2 separate regions of the Homo sapiens genome follow, and region 2 is linked to region 1. Evidence: promoter capture Hi-C in 16 types of primary human blood cells and fetal thymus (Javierre and others, 2016). All regions are on one chromosome and are shown on one strand. Each heading gives the region's core, a stretch centred on a gene start or on the middle of the fragment in contact. The rest is flanking DNA. Distances are from core to core; before and after follow the strand shown.

Region 1 (3,024 bases), core at 283-2,782:
TGTGTCAGTGTTACCTTAGCTTATGAAATATGTAGGGGGAGAGGTAAAGTCTTAAAAGAAACAAATGGGTGCACTTTATCGTATGTAAATTGTACCCCCAGTAAAGTCGATTTCAAACAAATTCTGAACCCGCGAATGACTTTAGGGAGAAGGAATACTGGTCTTGACCAAGATGTGTGTGATGATTAGTAAGCTTTGGGCAGCAGCCCCCTAATACTGTAAGGAGGTTGTGTTCATTTATCATCTTCCAAGCATAATCTAGGCTTCTGGCAAATTAGACCCAACCACTTTGTTCTACATTCAGCTGCAGGGGGAGGTGAACCCTCCTAGGGATTCCCAACTCCCTCTGAAACTCCAGCGTTCTGGAGGGACTTATGGTTATATGGAGGGCTTGGGAATGGAAGGCACTGTGGAGCTTATGCCATTGTCCCAAGATCCTCCACCTGGGCCAGTAATGGCTAGCCCCGTAAACAAAGTCCCCTTTTGCTGGAACTGCCACCACTAGCTTCCCCCCCTTCTCCTAGCCTCTGTGTGGCCCTCTCCCGCGGCGGGCCTTCCCCATTGGCCAGCCAAACACAACCGACTGCGGCAGCCAATAGGAGCCGCTCTCCTGAACATTCAGAGGATGGGTGCGCGTGGTGTGATAAGGGGATGTTGGCGCCTGGTACGCGCCCCCCTACATCTGGCAAGTCTGTAACAGAAACAGTTACACCCCCTACACACGCACACGCGTGCCCGCTGGCTCCCTCCTCTCAGCTGTACAGGCCCCGGACAACCCACTGCGTGTCTTGGCAGCGGCCTCCCAGGCTGCCTGGGGCCCGCGAGTGCACCTGCTCACTCATTAAGACAGAGCATCCCTTTATCCCAAGGCGCGGGTCGGGTAGAGGGTGGGGGTAGAGGGGACGGGGTAGCGGGGACCGGGAAGGCGCGGCTCAGCTGCCCGCTGCTCCCGAGGTGAAAGAGGTGCCTCCGCCCCCACCCCATCCCCGCAGAGTTGCGTTGCTCCAGGGAGGCCGAAGTGATCCAGTGATGTCTTAAGGTGCAGCTCTTTGTCCTCCCCAGCTGTGCTCCCTGCCCGCTGACCCCGTGCGCTCGAGCCAGTGGGGGTGGGGAGCCCGAAACCTATAACATAAACGGGGGCAAGGAGAAAGAAGTCTATCCCGGGGTGGCGTGTGCCGCTGTCCCCACCCCGTCTCTTTCCTCCTGAGGCTTCTTCCCTCGGGTCCGTCCCGGGAATGCAGGCAGGGGAGGGTGTGGGCCGAGGCGCGGCGGCGGCTGGAGCAGCGCGGTAGGGTCCTTCGCCAGAGCATCCGGTCCGAGGGCGCACACAGGCAGAAGGCTCGCGGCTCGTCCACTCTCCTCCCTCTCTCCTCCTCTCCCTGGCTTTTGTGTTGGTGCCTCCGAGCTGCAAGGAGGGTGCGCTGGAGGAGGAGGAGGGGGGCCCGGAGTGAGAGGCACCCCCTTCACGCGCGCGCGCGCACACGGTGCCGGCGCACGCACACACGGGCGGACACACACACACGCGCGCACACACACACGCACAGAGCTCGCTCGCCTCGAGCGCACGAACGTGGACGTTCTCTTTGTGTGGAGCCCTCAAGGGGGGTTGGGGCCCCGGTTCGGTCCGGGGGAGATGGCGCAGCCCATCCTGGGCCATGGGAGCCTGCAGCCCGCCTCGGCCGCTGGCCTGGCGTCCCTGGAGCTCGACTCGTCGCTGGACCAGTACGTGCAGATTCGCATCTTCAAAATAATCGTGATTGGGGACTCCAACGTGGGCAAGACCTGCCTGACCTTCCGCTTCTGCGGGGGTACCTTCCCAGACAAGACTGAAGCCACCATCGGCGTGGACTTCAGGGAGAAGACCGTGGAAATCGAGGGCGAGAAGATCAAGGTGATCCAGGGGGTCAGGTCCAGGAAGGGTGGGACCCGGGAGGGGACCTCGCCCGAGGCATAGCTCTAGCGGTTGTCGTCGTCCAGCGTCCAGCGCGTGGCGGTTTCGCCTCTTGCTGAGCCGAGGACCCTCGGCTCCTCCTCACCCCTTTTCACCTCTCTCAGCGGGGCCCCGTCCCCACTTCACTCAGTTTTTTAGGGCGGTTGAGAATGGGGTTGCATTCTTACCCTTAGCCCCTGCCTGACAGGTCCTGCCAGGAAAAGCATGTTGGATTCCCATCCATGACCCCTACCCCGAGCAGCGGCACCTGTGGGCAGAGGGAGGCAGGAGGCATCTGTGGGTCCTAGTCTCTGGGATGGATCCCAAAGCACTTTACACATCCTGATGTCTCTTCTACTGCTTGGGTGCCGATAGGCTGCAAAACCCCACTTTGGCTAAGCCTCAAGGCGTTAGAGGGAAGGAAATGATGGAAATCCATGGAGAATGAAAAAGCTGCTTTATTTTAAATTGCAGTTTATAGTTAAAAAATTAGGGCTGAGTTGAGATGGCGGTGGAGTGGGGTGGTTCTGGCAGAAAGCCATGAGCCCTTTTAAAGAAATTGAGGCAGGGTCCAGCCCTTCGTAATAGACAAAACTTGTTTTTTTGTAACAGCCCCCCTGGAATGATATCTTCTTTACTTGTCTGGGGCATCTAATACATGAACTGCTCCTTATTCATTCTGTTGGTATTGTCTTCAGGTCTTTGTAAAAATGCAGTGACTTAACCGAGGGCCAGGGGAATGTTCAATCCTCCCCCTCCATGAGTTTATGTAATAGGCTAAGTGCAAATATTCTTGTCTGACCATTTGTGCTCACCTTTAATTCAGAAAAGGTAGAAACCTGATATGACAGGAATATGTCAATGTGCAGGGGATGGCGGGAGGGAGGACATAACAAGGGCAACTTCTTGTGTCATGGGGAGCAGAGGGGGGCCTCTATAAAGGCACTGGGATCACTGAAGACAACTCCTCTAGGCTCACAGCTGGCCTTTCCTTGAGCGTATGGTTGGACCTTAGACAGAGTCAGGGGTGACAGTAAGCCTCCTTCTTGCTGGTCAAACTGCCAAAGTGACCACAAGGCCCCTCCTCTGAGTGA
Region 2 (3,024 bases), core at 317-2,816, 200 kb before region 1:
CTAACATCCCTAAGCCTGTACAGAATCACCACCACAGCAAGTGAAAAGCAGTACCCCAAAGTCAGTGGAATTTGTTGAGTACCCACTAACGTGGGCCACTAAAATGGGTGCTGTTCTTCAATATTTAGCCTCTTTGGGGCAAGAGGTAATAATTTTGCTGAAAGTTCTTGCTAAATTTTATTCTATTCTCCTTCCCAAAAATACATCTCTTTTTCTTTATGTTCAGGTTGTGGGTTTTATTCCTAGGCTTAAATGAAGCAGGCGCTCTCAAGTTCTGAACTTTAAAAATTCCTTATTTTTTTAAACTACTATGGAGCATCTACTGGGTGCCAGGCACTGTTCTAAGTGCTTAACATACAAGAACTCATGTGATCTTTATAACGTTTGCTTCTTCTTCTTCTTTTTTATATACAGAGATGAGTTTCACCATATTGCCCAGGCTGATCTTGAACTCCTGACTTCAACTGTTCCCCCCGCCTTGGCCACACAAAGCATTGGGATTACGGGCTTCAGCCACCGCGCCTGGCCCTTATAACGTTTTCAGGAGGTACTTATTAGCCCCCATTTCACAAATGAGGGAATTGAGGCTCAGAGAAAAGTATGCAAGGCAATAGCGCTAGGAAGTGGTGGAGCCAGTATTCAAACCATGTCTGTCTAACTTCAGAGATTGTGTGCTTAATCACTGAGTGGGAAGAGAAAGACTAAAAGAGACCCAGACTTTAAAATGAGTCTTTGGCAAGAAGGGAAGTCAAGTCTGGGCCTCAGCTTCTCCACTGTAAAACAAGTCCTACTATGTGCCAAGGTGGGAGGTCTTGGGGGGAGATGAAGGAGGCTGTGATACACAGATGAGAAATACTGAGTCCTTTTATCCAAGGAACTTAAAATCTAGTCGGAGAGATAGACAGGCAGAGTGTGGAAGTGCTAACTAAAGGGACAAGCTAAAAACTGTGGGGGTGCCCCAGAGGAGCAGCCAACTTCCATAGGGAGGGTGTGGGTGTCAGGGAAAGGGGCATGAGAGAATGGTCTTTTGTTTGTTTGTTTGTTGTTTGTTGTTTGAGACAGAGTCTTGCTCTGTCGCCCAGGCTGGAGTGCAGTGGCAAGATCTCAGCTCACTGCAGCCTCTGCCTCCCAGGTTCAAGCAATTCTCCTGCCTCAGCCTCCCAAGTAGCTGGGATTACAGGCGTGTGCCATTACACCTGGCTAAGTTTGGTATTTTAAGTAGAGACGGGGTTTTGCCATGTTGCCCAGGCTGGTCTCGAACTCCTGACCTCAAGTGACCCACCCACCTTGGTCTCCCAAAGTGCTGGGATTACAGGCGTGAGCCGCCACACCCAGATGAGAGAGCTGTCTTGAGTAACGGTTGAGTGAGATTTCAATAAGCTGAGAAAGACATATAAAAAGCTGTGGGAGGGGGCAGGTGGGAGGGGCCAGGTGCGATGGCTCACGCCTATAATCCCAGCACTTTGAGAAGCCAAGGTGGGTGGATCATGTGAAATCAGGAGTTCGAGACCAACCTGGCCAACATGGTGAAACCCTGTCTCTACTAAAAATACAAAAATTAGCTGGGTGTGGTGGCACGTGCCTGTAATCCCAGCTACTAGGGAGGCTGAGGCAGGAGAATCGCTTGAACCCAGGAGAAGGAGGTTGCAGTGAGCCAAGATCACGCCATTGCATTCCAGGCTGGGCGACAAGAGCAAAACTCCATCTCAAAAAAAAGCAAGCAAACAAACAAACAAAAAAACCTGTGGGAGGCCACTATGGTGGCTCACACCTGTAATCTCAGCACTTTAGGAGGCGAAGAGGGAAGGATCACTTGAGGCTAGGAGTTCAAGACCAGCCTGGGCAACACAACGAGAACTCAAGAACTCATTTGTGCAATTTTTTTTTTTGAACAAAGTTTTGCTCTCTTTGCCCAGGCTGGAGCACAATGGCGTGATCTTGGCTCACTGCAACCTCCACCTCCTGAGTTCAAGCGATTCTCCTGCCTCAGCCTCCTGAGTAGCTGGGATTACAGGCACCTGCCACCATGCCTGGCTAATATTTGTATATTTAGTAGAGATGGGGTTTCACCATGTTGACCAGGCTGGTCTTGAACTTCTGACCTCAGGTGATCCACCCGCCTTGGCCTCCCAATGTGCTGGGATTACAGGTGTGAGCCACCACGCCCAGCCTCATCTGTACAATTTTTTTAAGTGTTTAAAAAAAAAAAAAAGCTGAGGAAGCAGAGCTGACAAAATGGATGGCTTATCCAAGGAATGCCGAGGGGGCCAGTCAGGTCAGAAAAGAGGGCTTGTGAGAGACATGGAAGGAAAGGAGGCTAGAACTAGATCAGGGAGGGCCCTAAAGGCTAGGTGAAGGCTCATGGACTTGATTTTGTTGGCAGTGGCCAACCATAGCCAGTTTTTCAGGAGGGCAGATTTCTTAGAATCCCTTCCACTTCTAGCACTGCATGTTTGATTAAGAACTTTGTTGGCTGGGCGCGGTGGCTCACACACCTATAATCCCAGCATTTTGGAAGGCCAAGGCTGGAGGATCACTTGAGCCCAGGAGTTCCAGACCAGCCTAGGCAACATTGCAAGACCACGCCACCACCACCCCCTCTAATGTTAAAAAAAATAATAATTTTTAAGAAAGAACTTTGTTTAGAGCCTAGGAGTCTCAGGGAAGAGGAGAGTGGTCAGCAAGCTGAAGGGCTTGACCCGGTGAGGCCTCTGGGTTGATTTCAGCCCCTTTCCTCATTTTCACTCCTTTGGCTATAAAATCCAAAAAAGTTGTTGGTTGTTTACAGAGTTCAGTTTAACCGGACATGCTGTCTCCCCATCCACACCTGGGGCTCTAAGAGGGCAGAGACCAGGCCATTTGTTCTCTGGGAGCCAGCACTTAGTATCCAGTACTCTGTAGGCAGCTGGAATGTATCTACCTTAGCAACCCTTCTTGCAAAAAAGGCTCATGCCTTTGAAATTTACTAATAACAAATAGAGGCAAAGACTCCTCCCCTACCCCGCTTGTCCTCTGAAACATAAA

Evidence for each region. Contacts are between HindIII fragments. The CHiCAGO score rates a contact against its expected background, and 5 or more counts as called.
Region 2: a fragment that was not itself captured here is called in contact with the fragment with the promoter of RAB33A in region 1 in 1 of 17 cell types (naive CD8 T cells); the score reaches 5.7 in naive CD8 T cells.

The regions. Positions count from the first base shown.
Region 1 is chrX:130,170,430-130,173,453 of GRCh38, forward strand. It overlaps RAB33A (RAB33A, member RAS oncogene family), which reads left to right and starts at 1,533. Exons shown (of 2, transcript NM_004794.3): 1 at 1,533-1,891. The coding sequence starts at 1,634. RefSeq lists enhancers at 257-306, 1,116-2,070 and silencers at 687-746, 917-996. The HindIII fragment of the contact is 5,739 bases long and covers 192-3,024 here.
Region 2 is chrX:129,973,578-129,976,601 of GRCh38, forward strand. No RefSeq gene overlaps it. Among named protein-coding and RNA genes, the nearest start is that of BCORL1, 7.5 kb to the right of the region's middle. The HindIII fragment of the contact is 3,364 bases long and covers 1-3,024 here.